Linked DNA regions of Homo sapiens: regions 1, 2 and 3 are each linked to region 4. Evidence: promoter capture Hi-C in 16 types of primary human blood cells and fetal thymus (Javierre and others, 2016). All regions are on one chromosome and are shown on one strand. The core of a region is centred on a gene start or on the middle of the fragment in contact, and the rest is flanking DNA. Distances in the headings are between cores, read along the strand shown. Region 1 has its middle 730 kb from the start of CDH6. Region 2 has its middle 800 kb from the start of CDH6. Region 3 has its middle 780 kb from the start of CDH6. Region 4 holds the start of CDH6 (cadherin 6).

What was found. Contacts are between HindIII fragments. The CHiCAGO score rates a contact against its expected background, and 5 or more counts as called.
Region 1: a contact is called between a fragment that was not itself captured here and the fragment with the promoter of CDH6 in region 4, in 1 of 17 cell types (M2 macrophages). The highest score is 6.4, in M2 macrophages.
Region 2: a fragment that was not itself captured here is called in contact with the fragment with the promoter of CDH6 in region 4 in 2 of 17 cell types (M2 macrophages and M1 macrophages); the score reaches 8.2 in M2 macrophages.
Region 3: a fragment that was not itself captured here is called in contact with the fragment with the promoter of CDH6 in region 4 in 3 of 17 cell types (M2 macrophages, M0 macrophages and M1 macrophages); the score reaches 9.1 in M2 macrophages.

What each region holds. Positions count from the first base shown.
Region 1 is chr5:30,460,824-30,463,849 of GRCh38, forward strand. No RefSeq gene overlaps it. Among named protein-coding and RNA genes, the nearest start is that of CDH6, 730 kb to the right of the region's middle. The HindIII fragment of the contact is 1,571 bases long and covers 970-2,540 here.
Region 2 is chr5:30,389,671-30,392,717 of GRCh38, forward strand. No RefSeq gene overlaps it. Among named protein-coding and RNA genes, the nearest start is that of CDH6, 800 kb to the right of the region's middle. The HindIII fragment of the contact is 3,173 bases long and covers 56-3,047 here.
Region 3 is chr5:30,412,304-30,415,487 of GRCh38, forward strand. No RefSeq gene overlaps it. Among named protein-coding and RNA genes, the nearest start is that of CDH6, 780 kb to the right of the region's middle. The HindIII fragment of the contact is 1,442 bases long and covers 616-2,057 here.
Region 4 is chr5:31,192,369-31,195,571 of GRCh38, forward strand. CDH6 (cadherin 6) reads left to right here and starts at 1,318. Exons shown (of 12, transcript NM_004932.4): 1 at 1,318-1,518. The HindIII fragment of the contact is 5,513 bases long and covers 1-3,076 here.

The DNA.
Region 1 (3,026 bases), core at 505-3,004, 730 kb before region 4:
AGGTAATCAACCTACCTAAAGATTGTTCTTAAAGCTTTTTCATTAATGAACCTTTAGTGCAACCAGTGAAAGTTAAACTTTTCTCCAAGGGCCCATGTACTTAAAAGCAAACACAGATAAAATAATTTGCTCATAATTCCAGTAGGTTAATAGAACTTATGGACCCATCCATAGATTCAAATTAATCAAGCCCAAGCAAATCCTAGTTAAGTAATTTAAGACAACTTTAGAATCTTAATACATATTGATTTCACTTTAGCTTCTTTCTTGAGAGAATATCCAATCTATCGCACCATCCAGAACATTACATTTGTTTTCTAGTTTTCTTAAATAATGTCCAGCTTTTAATCAAAACCACTCAGAGTACAGAAAGATTAGACTTAAGTTTTAACATTCAGTCAAAACAAACAGTAAAATTTGACCTAGGGTAAGAAGCAGTTATTGGAGTTATCAGCCAAAGACTTTTAAAAAAATGATTTATAGTCACAAAATCAAGAGAAAAGATGAGAAAAGTTGGCAGAGGTCAGTAAAACAAGTACATAAATAATGTTATTGTGGGCTGGATGCAGTGGCTCACACCTGTATTTCTAGCACTTTGGGAGACCAAGGCAGGCAGATTGCTTGAGCTCAGGAGTTTGAGACCAGCCTGGGCAATATGGTGAAACCTCATCTATACAAAAAATACAAAAATAAGCCAGGCATGGTGGCACATGCCTGTAGTGCCAGCTAGGGAGGCTGAGGTGGGAGGATTGCTTGAGCCTAGAAGGTTGAGGCTACAGTGAGCCATAATCGAGCCACTTCACTCAAGCCTGAGCAACAGAGTGAGACTCTGCCTCAATAATAACAATAATAATAATGTTATTCTTAGTTATATGAAATATAAACAAAGATACAGAAGTAATATTTTAAAATGCATCAAGATACAAATTCAAGAACAGTTATAAACTTCAGGAAGGGTAAATTTCTTCAAGCTTTTTTTAAATAAATAAAACTTTCACGTTGGCACATCATTAAAGATTGCTGAAAACCAAACACAAAAAGAAAACTAAAAGAACCCAAATGGTGCGGGGTGGGATTATAACCTTCCAAAGTAAATGATTTTACTGAGAACTAACTTCACAAAAAAAGAAACAAACAAAAGAAAACAAAATATGAAAGACAAAGGAATGACATCGTCACAACAATTTTTGAAAAATAATGGCCAATCTAGAGTACAAGACAACTTTTAAGTGATTCAAAATAGTAATGAAAAATGTTAAATGCTATGTCCATTGTGAACACCTTTGGACAATAAAGAAAAAAAATATTTCAAGCAACCAAAGAAAGTGACAGCATGTTACCACCAATAGAAAGAAATTAATACAATTTAATTATGTGGAAATATAAAATAAAAAAGGAGTTTAAAAAAAGAAAGAAATGAAAGAAATAAAAATTCAAATATTTGACCAAACATAACAAGCCAGTACCATTAATAACAATATATTGTGAGGTTACAAATTCAATAAAGTTTTAACTGAACAAGAGAACTCAAGGCAGAAGAGGTTAAATGGAGCAAAATACACAATAAAATACTAATTTATAATATTCTTTCATAGTCAGGGATGGATCTTGTAACCTCAAAGAAAATAATACTAATATATAATTGTCCAGTCATATTCATGCTTTTTACATCTATGGAGTCAACCGATGGAGATCAAATGTATTTCCACAAAGAAACAAAAATATAAGTACAACTATACTGACCATTTACAGACTTGTTCTTGTAATTATTCCCTAACAATGCAGTATAACAACAATTTACATAACATTTACATTAAAGTAAGTATTGCAAGTAATCTAGAAATGATTTAAAGTACATGGGAGGATGTGTGTAAGTTACATGCAAATACTATATCCCAAATTTTGGTATCCAAGGGGGATCCTGGAACAAATCCCTTACAGATACTGAGGGATGATTGTTCTAAAAGAATACAGAAACAAAAAACTAAGAGCAAATAAATAAATTCTAAAACTATAATTTATAAATGTGAAGAAAGGACAGAAAAAAGGGACATTAAATACCTCTGATGAATACATAAGAATGTGATTGTATACATAAATAAAAATATCTTCATTACACTAAATGCTAATGGTTAAAATATTCTAACTGAAATATAAATAAGTGCCATTTGCCACTTAAAAGAGACACAACTTTTTAAAAAGAATATAAAAATGTTAAATATAAAAGGACAGATGCAGTATACTGTATACATTTTAACTCAAAGAAAGCTACAGTAATATTATACAAATTGTTAGACTTTAAGGCAAGAAGCACTATTAGAGTATAAGAGGAATATGTCTAATAATAAAAGTGACAATGCCCAAAGGGGTTAAATTCTAATTTAGGTAATACTAATCAAAGAAAATTTGACAGAAATAAAAGTGGAACTGGACAAATTCACAAACAGAACAAAAAGCCTTTAAAACGTATTTTTCACATTATAGAATAAGAATACCAACACTCAGTAAATAGTTATAAAAATTTAACAGCATCAATAGCAAGCTTGAACTAATTAGTCTATGTATAATAGCACATTCCGACATAGAATACTTTGATTTTTAAGTCAGAATGGAAAAATTAGCAAAATTAATCATATGTTGGGTCAGAAGACAAGTCTTAGGAGTTACAAAGGATTTAAATAATAAAATATGATTTCCAAAATGACAAAAAATTAGTCTTCTGTACATGTATGTTATGAAGGAACAACATTAAATTGAACCAAGCAATTGAAAAAATAATCAATATAGGTGTAAAAATAATAAAATATAAAATAAATATACTATGAAGAAGATCAACAAATGAAAAATTATTATTTTATAAATGAGTTAAATGGTAAAAATTATTTGACAAAATTAAAAAGACAAAAGATAGGCATAAATAACTAATATCAAGAATGATAAAGGAAATATTAGCAAAACTCCTGTAAAAATAAGATTATTTGAAAAATTATATATCAATTAACTTCAATATTTAGATTAAGTTCCCA
Region 2 (3,047 bases), core at 392-2,891, 800 kb before region 4:
AAGAACCTTGAGTCTCTAAGAAACTCAACTGCTGTGTCTGAACTTGTCTATATGAAGCTTTACTTTCTTTACTTTCTTTCCCCTTTCAATTTAGTACTACAGCTCCCCCTAATTTCTTTTGCAGCTTCCTTTAGCCAACTAAATATTTGTCAATTCTATCTCCATTTTTTATTATCCTTAACTCACACAAAGGGAAGCAATTCTTTTAAAATGAAGAACTTCATAATTTGAGGCTTGAATTCCTACAGAGGGTAATGTTGAAACTTTTAAACAAAGTAATCTACATCTGACCCGTACATGAAATGGGGTTATTATCAACTCATTTTATGAGGTTGTTACTATTTGTAAATCAAGGTTAATAACAATGTTGATTATGGATCAGATAATGCATGTAAATGAACTTGAACAGCATGTGATATACAGTAACTGCAAACTAAATGCAGTCTATTGTTGTTCTTCATTCTCCCATTGCTCCTCCAAATTCCTTTTCTACCCTTCTCTGTCCTGTTTCATGCCCTGGGAGGTTGCTGTCTGTGGAATGCAACACTTGAGCAAACTTGTCCGTGGCTTTCTGTTGGCTGCCCTTGGGAGGCATTCCAGGACATCAGACAGCAGGAGGAAAGAGTATTTGAAGTATTTATCACCCCTACACCTGAGTTGCTTCCATCAAGTAGCTAACATCGGTTATCTTGAGTCACAGGCCTGTACATGGCTCATCTATGATATTAACTCTCACTCACTCAGTTCACATTCCTCCCTAGGACCAGGCTCAAGACTGCTTTTAATGTTGCTAGTCTCTTGGTTGTCTCCTGTTGGTTCCATGTATTCGGTCCATGAAACTATAGATAATCCTTCATGAAACTGTCTTCAATCAAGCCTTTTCAGTGTATCATTTGATCCCTGCTATGAATTTGAATTCTATAACAATAATAAAAATTACCACCTCTACCACCACTAGTGCTAGAAAACCAGTACTAGAAAACCACTTGTGTTGTTATAAAAACTACTACTGTTACTACTACAATTACTGTTATTAATGCTAGTACTACTGCTGCTGCTACAATTACCATTACTGAAGTGGAATAATACCAGCAATAACAATAATGCCACTGTGCTAGTATGAGGATAAGTTGAAACGAGAAATTATATTTATTTTCTTCCACAAATAAAAGCATTCCAACACCACGCCTTTCAAATTTAGGGCGCCAATCATTTAATTTATTTTATTTTCCTGTATTTCTGGCAACTATTTTCATTTTCTTTTTCCTTCACTCACTGTCTAGGCAGGATTTCCCTTCTATTCCCACAACCACAGCTCATTCCACAGAAGAGTCTTTCCTTTTTGTCCAAATAAGTAGAAATAAATCAGTAGGGTAGTTTCATACTTTTAGTTACTTGACCAACCATTCAGTAAGTTAGGTGATATAATCGTAGACAGGAAATCATCACAAAGACATTTGTGACATGCTTCACCTTGATTTCATATTTTCTTTAACTTTTAATTCATTACTGTTCAAAATAGATTCCATCAAAGAAATATCCAATTGATATGATAAATACAATGTTTTATTGGACACATCTGTCTTGAACTAGTAATGTTAAATCATCTTAGCTATATTGTCACTTCTATGAATCTTTAAAATTCCTATATTGTTGTTCTCAGTGGCATCAGGTGATACATCTTAACTGCAAAGTGCCCTGTGTTCAAAACTCCAATTTTTCTATATCCTTATTAGAATTAGTATTTCAGCAAAAGTGCACCCAGCTTAATTTTAAAAATCTGTTCTGTCACATAGATTCCTGTTTTTTTTTTTATCAAGCGTCATTAATACAAGAAAAAAAATTCCGTAATATAGTGAGTGTTTTGATTGACACTCCTGCCTCATTCCATTTGGCAAGTTTAAGTATTTTATTATGCCATAGACATGCATCTTTTTATATGGTTGTAATTGTGATAGGCATATAAGTGACAGTATCAAAATTGTTCTTGTTTGGGAGTCTTGTTAGTTTGAAGCAGATGTCAAAATCTCCCTTCTCTAAAAATTATTAATTCCATCTTAACTCCTCTCCTGCACAAATTCTGGCAAATTGTGTTTTCCTCTACTTTTCATTTAGGAGTCCTGGAATTATATTTGCTCAATGATCAATTGATCTAACCCTACCTCGATCTTCTCCAATAAATTCTCACATAAATTGCAAACAAGTATTTACTTAAACAAGTATTTACTAAAAGCAGCCTTTTTAAGATTTTTTCTCTATTTCCTTTTTTCTCTCCTCTTTCTAGCATCTGAAGCCATCCTTTTTTGAGCTCAAACAGGTCCTTTTAAAATGCCACTTCAGATTTTCTCTGGGTTACTATTTTTCAAAAACACCTGCAATAAGGAGTATTTATTGACCACATACTTTAGGCGAGGCAGTGGGCGGGGTGCCTGGGATAAAATCATGACCAGAACCTGAAACAGTCCTTGCCCTCAAAGATTTAGAGCTTAATAAGAGAACAGCACTAGTCACATAATCTCACAAATGCATGTAAAATTATAATTAGAATAATGATTAAAAATATGTATTTTGTAAGAGTATATAGCAGAGTAGCCTCACCTGATCTGTATAAACAGGGTAAGCAAGTGTAGAAACCAGAGAAAGTTCTGTAAGCCACAATGAATATTTTTCTCTGTTTTGCTTAGAGCATTGAAAGTCCAATTAAAGATTGTAAAAGGGTGAAATACGATCAGACTTGCCATTTTAAAATTTAACTCGGATTTCCATTTCATAAGTGATGTAATGGCAAAATGGATGCAGGAGATCATTTAAGTGGCTATGCTCTGATTCTAGGTAGTTTTTTGTTTGTTTGTTTGTTTGTTTTTTGTTTTTGAGACAGAGTCTCACTCTGTCGCTCAGGATGGAGTGCAGTGGCGCTATCTTGGCTCACTGCAAGCTCCGCCTCCCGGGTTCACGCCATTCTCCTATCTCAGCCTCTCGGGTAGCTGGGACTACAGGCGCCCACCACCACGCCGAGCTAATTTTTTGTATTTTTAGTAGAAACGGGG
Region 3 (3,184 bases), core at 87-2,586, 780 kb before region 4:
GTGAAATCTACCAACAACTGAGATAATTATGTGTCAAATATCAGAACATAAATGTATCAAGTCTTAAAATATACTTTTTAAGTGTTCTCATTTTTAAAAACCATAGCTGAATATAAATTATTTGCACTTTGAGGGCTTTCTTGCAAATATTTTAAAAGTAATTGCCTAGAACAATGTATCAGGTAATCTGAATATAATTAATCCTTTGTACTTTGTGATTGACCTTCTTATAGGTGATATACAAAGTAGAATAAGGATGTATGTATTCTACTGCATTAGTTTGCAAATAGACTTTTTTCTTATTGAAATATCATTATATTGCAACATTTTCATTTAGTTTTAAAGTACTAGTAACCTGAAATGATACGCTTGTATTGTATATTTTTAAACATTTTTTTGAAAAGATAAATTAATTGTTTCACTAATCCACTTTTGGAATTTACCCAGAATCTCCACCAAACTAAATTAATTCACATATTCTCTATATGTTGCTTTCAGAGATAATATAGACTATGTACTACCCCTTTCAGGCCACCACAGATTCATTGTAATCATTACTACAGTAATAAAGTACTACCCAGAGGATTAAAAGAACACATGTTTTACTCATTTACAAGCTTAGTAACAAAGCATACTGCAGATGCCATACAACAATTGACAGGACAAGCCCGGAATCTTCTCTTTCTTCAGTATCTAAAGAATTTTAGCCCCATAAAAATGTGACTCTTTTTCAAAGTTTTGCCACAATTCACTTTTATATCCATTGTCCCTTTCAAAAACATGCATAAATCTTATCAGAGCTTATGAATTTTCAAATGTCTCTTTTTCTATAATTTTTTTAATTAATGGAATAGAGTATAAATATATGAGTGTGACCCAAAAGAAACAAAAGATCAGAACTTTATGTCTTTTAACAATTACTTTGTGCTCATTTATTAGCATAATTTTGAAAATGTTAAGCTGAAGTATCAAAGAAGATTTCAAGAAAGGGTTTGTGTTAGTAATTTTTCCATTCATGTGATTTATACACATGGAAATATGGTGATAAGGAATGAAAAGAAAGCAAGCATAAATAAGTAAATACACCTAAACCTCATAATTAGAATATTTCAAGAAATTCACCCAAAGAAAGCCTAGAAATAATCAACAGAATTAATTTTACTCAAAGACCTGAGTTAAAATTTTCTATTTTAAATCAGTGTTCAGCTACCATATTATAGGCTGGAAGAAAGGACACTTGAATAGGGAAGTTGCCATGATGCAATTCAGAGATTTCCAACAGCAAAACAGGAGACAGAAGGGAGTACAAATGCCAAAAATAAAGTAATACTAAAGCAATATTTTTAAAAATTCAGGTAACCATGTAAGAACTTTCACAAGGAAGATGAAGATAAAGCATAAGGAGAGGGACGAGGAAATAGTAATTTCCACTAGAGGCCACTATCAACTGAGCATTCTCACAGAAAAAGAAGAAGACAAAAAAGAATTTTAAAGCTAGTTGGAACTTCCCATTTTAGCTCCAACATGTAACAAGGTTAGACGTTCTCACTTTCATTCTTGCAACATGAAGAAAAGCAAGCAAACTGAAAACCAATGATTTTTTTTGTTGGACACAGAGAAATGAGTTTGCAGGGCAAATTACCACCCTGAAATCTGGAAAGACAAGTGAATCGAGAAAAGTCACACTCAAAATCTGATTATCTGAAAGAGAAGCTGCTGGAGACATAGACTAGTAATAATACAGAAGTGGTGAATTTGTGAGATTTCTGGATGCTAAGTAGGAACTGCTGTATAAATGAAAAATCCTGAAAGGTACAGGTGAAGCGGAGTCCCCACACTTTTATGAATTTTACCTTTAGGAAATGTACCAGGTTTTTGTAGGGAAGATCCAGGAAATAGTCCTTTGTGCTTGGAGTAGGAGGAAAGGAAGAGCAATCCTTGGGAAGTGCACCCAGAGCCTTTTCCATTTAAAAGGCCGACTCTCCAGGGGAAAAGGCTGCCAGAGACTTGCCCCAGTCAGATGAAGGAAGAGCATTCTTTCCCTCCACTAGTTCCTAAGCTTTCTGTCTCATCAAACTAGAAACACTGGTGAAAGTAACAAACAACTGACAAATAAAAGACTGAGATTTAACTGAAATAAATATGTAAAACTCACCTTCCACAACACCTAGCTCAATATTATCAAGGCTCCAGTATAATAATAATGGAAAACAGCTGAAAGAGTTGTAAGGCACAGATAAAAAGAACGACAAATACAAGGTCACTAGAGGTGGTTGAAGCCTCTAGATATACCCACAGCAAACATTCAACAAATCTCCTACCAATATGAACGTAAATTTTCAACTAAAGGCCTATTAACCTTAGATCCCATTGCCTGGATATCAAGAACAAGTTTCAAGGCAATGTAAAAGGCAGAACAAAACAGTCTGAAGAGATAGTGCAAGTATTAGAACTAAACTGATAAGACTCACATTTTAGGATTATCAGACAGGAATTTAAAATATGACTAATATGTTAAAGGTCTAAATGGAAAAAGGAGACAACAGATTGGTAATATAAGCAAAGATATGGAAAACCTAAGAAATAATCTAAAGGAAATGCTAGAGATCAAAACTACTGTAACAGAAATGATGAATGCCTTCAATCAACTTAGCAATAGAATGGACATCACTGAGGAGTAGGTGAAGATACGTCGATAGAAACTTCTCAAACTGAAATACAAAGAGAAGAAAACAATGAAAAAAATAAATGAAGAAAACATCAGAAAACTGTAGGACAATCTGAAAAAGTATAGCACAAACAAAGTTGGGATGCCAGAAGGAAATGTAAGCGAACACTGCAGAAGAAATATTTGAAGTAATAATGACAGAAAGCTTTCAAAATTTCATGACAGATTCCAAACCACAGATTCAAGAAGTGAAGAGAACATTAAGCAGGATAAATACCAAAAACAAATGGTTATATACAGAAATATTTATAGAAATGTGTATCTACGTGGATTAGGATACTCACATATGTCCCCTTGAGAGCATAACAACAAGCACACGCCAGAAGTCACAAGCACACCTAGTACCCAAATCTTGGTTTCTAATACCATTCCACAGTAAAAGTAACAAGCGCTCTTTGGAGAAATAGGTGATTCTAGGCCTGATGCAAGAAATTTACACAGTGAGCCTGGAACAAC
Region 4 (3,203 bases), core at 68-2,567:
AGAAAGAAACTCAAATCTTTCCATCTTCCATGTGCAGAACATCTGTGCTAAAACCATTCCATGCACACTTCTTTGAAGCACTGGCTGCCTAAAGGAATACTTTTGATTTGGGCTTTATTTAAATGCCTGAACTTCTATTGGAGAAACAAAAGGTTTTCTAGTAAGAGCTCAGTTGGGAACAGGACCAACCTCCAGCCAGTTTAACTACTCAGAGGCCAAGCAGCCTGGCATTTCTTAGAGCTCTGTGCAATGGAAATCTCCCTGAGAACTTGCAGCACAGGCGAACAGCTGGTTTGGGAGGCTAGTGACCCTGGGTGCAATCACTGTGGTAATTAGATTTAATTTTCCTAATCCAACAGTGGCTGACTCCATCATGCCTATGTCTCCTATGTAGAAAATCATTACTCTCATTTAATGGTACTTTGACATGTTTCACATTTTTGTGGCTTAGTACCTTAACATTAGATATTACCTCTTTGTAACTATCAATCTAGCCATTCAAACAGCTATGTGTACTAAAGAGTTTAATTTGAAGGTTATCCAACTTCGGCAACTTTCCAGAAGGATCTTCGAACGTTAAGCAGACCTTGAATATCATTGTACACCCCTCTTCTGCAAGTCTTTTGTATGCTTGTATCAATTCATTTAGAACGATGGCATCAGTCATAAGTCATTGGCAAGCCTGAAGGGTTTGGGTTTTCAGTGTTTCTGCAAGCCCAGGGAAGCATGGCTTCATGCTACGACATCCTGGGGTCACTCCAAAAGAGTAACAGAGATCATGGGGCTACGTGAAAGCGTGTCTTCCTGGGAGGAGAGAAGGAAAGACATGTATGAATCTATCCATGTCTGCTTGCATCTGGAGAACGCCTGTTTATGTTGTAAAGAAAAGCCATCGGTATTGTCATCTCAGGAGACCGGCTTGTTTTATGTGTGTGCATGTTATACGTGCTATCACACGAAGCTGGCCAACTGATAGAGTGACGAGGTACTGTGTCCCTGGGAATTGTAATTGCTTGGTCGGTGAAAAAAAAAGAACATCAGACCATTGCTGATAATAGCACAAGGTGCATTTTGATAGTACAAAAGAGGAAACAGACGGAGTCATACAAGTTCTGAGTATATCTTAAACCCCCTCCAACAAAAAAAAGAAAGAAAGAAAGAAAGAAAGAAAGCAAGGGAAAGCCTGGGGCTGAAGGAGTGTTCCAGGGAGCGAATTGCTCAGGACTTCAAACACTGGGAGTCATTCTGTCAAGGGGAGGGGGCGGGCGGGGGCAGGCACTGGGCCTCTTTAACAAAGTCCTCCTCTCTTTGCTCCCTCCCACTTCATTCACTTGCAAATCAGTGTGTGCCCACAAGAGCCAGCTCTCCCGAGCCCGTAACCTTCGCATCCCAAGAGCTGCAGTTTCAGCCGCGACAGCAAGAACGGCAGAGCCGGCGACCGCGGCGGCGGCGGCGGCGGAGGCAGGAGCAGCCTGGGCGGGTCGCAGGGTCTCCGCGGGCGCAGGAAGGCGAGCAGAGGTGGGTTCGGGCTCCGTTGGCTATGCATACATCTCCCTTTTTTTTTTTTTAATTCTGTAGCGTTGATAGAAGCCAATCAGAGAGAGAGCCCTCTCCGCCCGGTGGGTGCCGCGCCGGAGTTGGGAGGGATGCTCTCAGCCTGCGAGCCCGGGTCGGGGCGGGCGCGCGGGTCCGGCTGCGCGGGCGGCGCTGCTGCCGCTGCTCAGGACCGACGCCGCTTCCCGGGGAGCCTGGGCACCGCTCCTCCGCCTCCTGGTAAGACCGATCCGCCGTGGGGCTGGGTGGGGGCACCGGGAAGCGGGCCGCCGCAGAAGAACCCGCTGCCTTTCTCTACGCCGGCAGAGGCTGCCAGGGGAGCTCTGGCATTTGCAAAGTTGGCTGGTCAATTACCAAAGGGCGCTGGTGCGTGCAGGTCCCGCCGAGCCGTTTGGGGCTTGATTTATCTCCACCTGCCCGCATCATAAGGGTCTGCGTGGTGACTGCTTGGGCTGAGTTACATTTCTTAGCTTTTGGGGTAAAGCAGAAAATCAGGTAGTCTGAAAACTCTGGAATGCTCCCAGTAAGGAAAACTTAAACTAAAGAGACGATTTGGCTGGTAGAAGGAGCTAAAGAAAACTGTTAGCTTGCACGTTCCGGGCAACGCCTGCCGGCTCATCTAGGACAGAAATGCTTAGGTTGCAAGGAAAGTCCAACACTGGACTCCGAAAATGGAGCACACTGTCCAGGGAAAAGTCATATGGAAGGCGCAGTTCGCTCGTGCTCCTCCACGGCTGGCCAGGCTCAAATCTGGGGGATAAAGCCTTCCCCGGACTGATTGGAGAGTGGTTGGAGTGCGCTTGGTTTTCGGTGCCAGATGCTGGAAAATTGGAGCCCCCAATGCGTTAATCCCAGAATTTAATAAAAAGGGACGCTGCAATGTTGTGGACTGCAGCAGTTGCAGAGCTGAGATTACTTCTTCCGTAGTTAGATATTCTGTCATGAGTTACCGTAGATCTCGAGATGGGAGATGCTGGAGAGGTCAGCGTGGTGCTAAGAAGTGTCACTGCTGCAATAAAATCCATATTTTATGGGGAGTTAAATGCAGGTCTCTGTCAGTGCAAAGGGCTGGCCACCTGAGTTAACTATGACTCAGAACATTCAAGAACCAAGAAGTTTAATCATCTGGAATAGCCACACATTTCTGTCTCCTACTCCCATTAAAAAAAAAAAAAATTTAAATGATGATAGTCATACTATAGAGGTGTATCAGACCGTGTCTCTGCGAATCTTCACTTTCACTTCGTAAAGCACACAGTGGGAAAGAAGGAAGAGGTTTTCCCTGCAAGAATGTTGCAGGAGTGGCTGTTGTGTACATATATGGCTGCTCTGGAGGGGTGCAGATCAAAATGTGGGCTTTCTGAGTGGTTAATTATCCAGGGGGTTGCAAACTCCTCCCTGTGTTGGAAAAAGGAACCCAGGGATATGCCTAGTTAATGTACAACTCTTCCAAGAAGGACTAACAAATATGCTTATATGAATAGTGCCAAGGGTTGCTTATTTCCTTTCTTTTCTTGCTGAAAGCTTTACCTGAAAAGGAAAACCCTTAGGATTTTACTTTGAGAGAGAGAAAAAAAATCTCTTCCAGTTTCACCTGAGACTTGAGCATCATCCCGTGTGTAATAGTACTTGCACGGCTCTATGCTTGC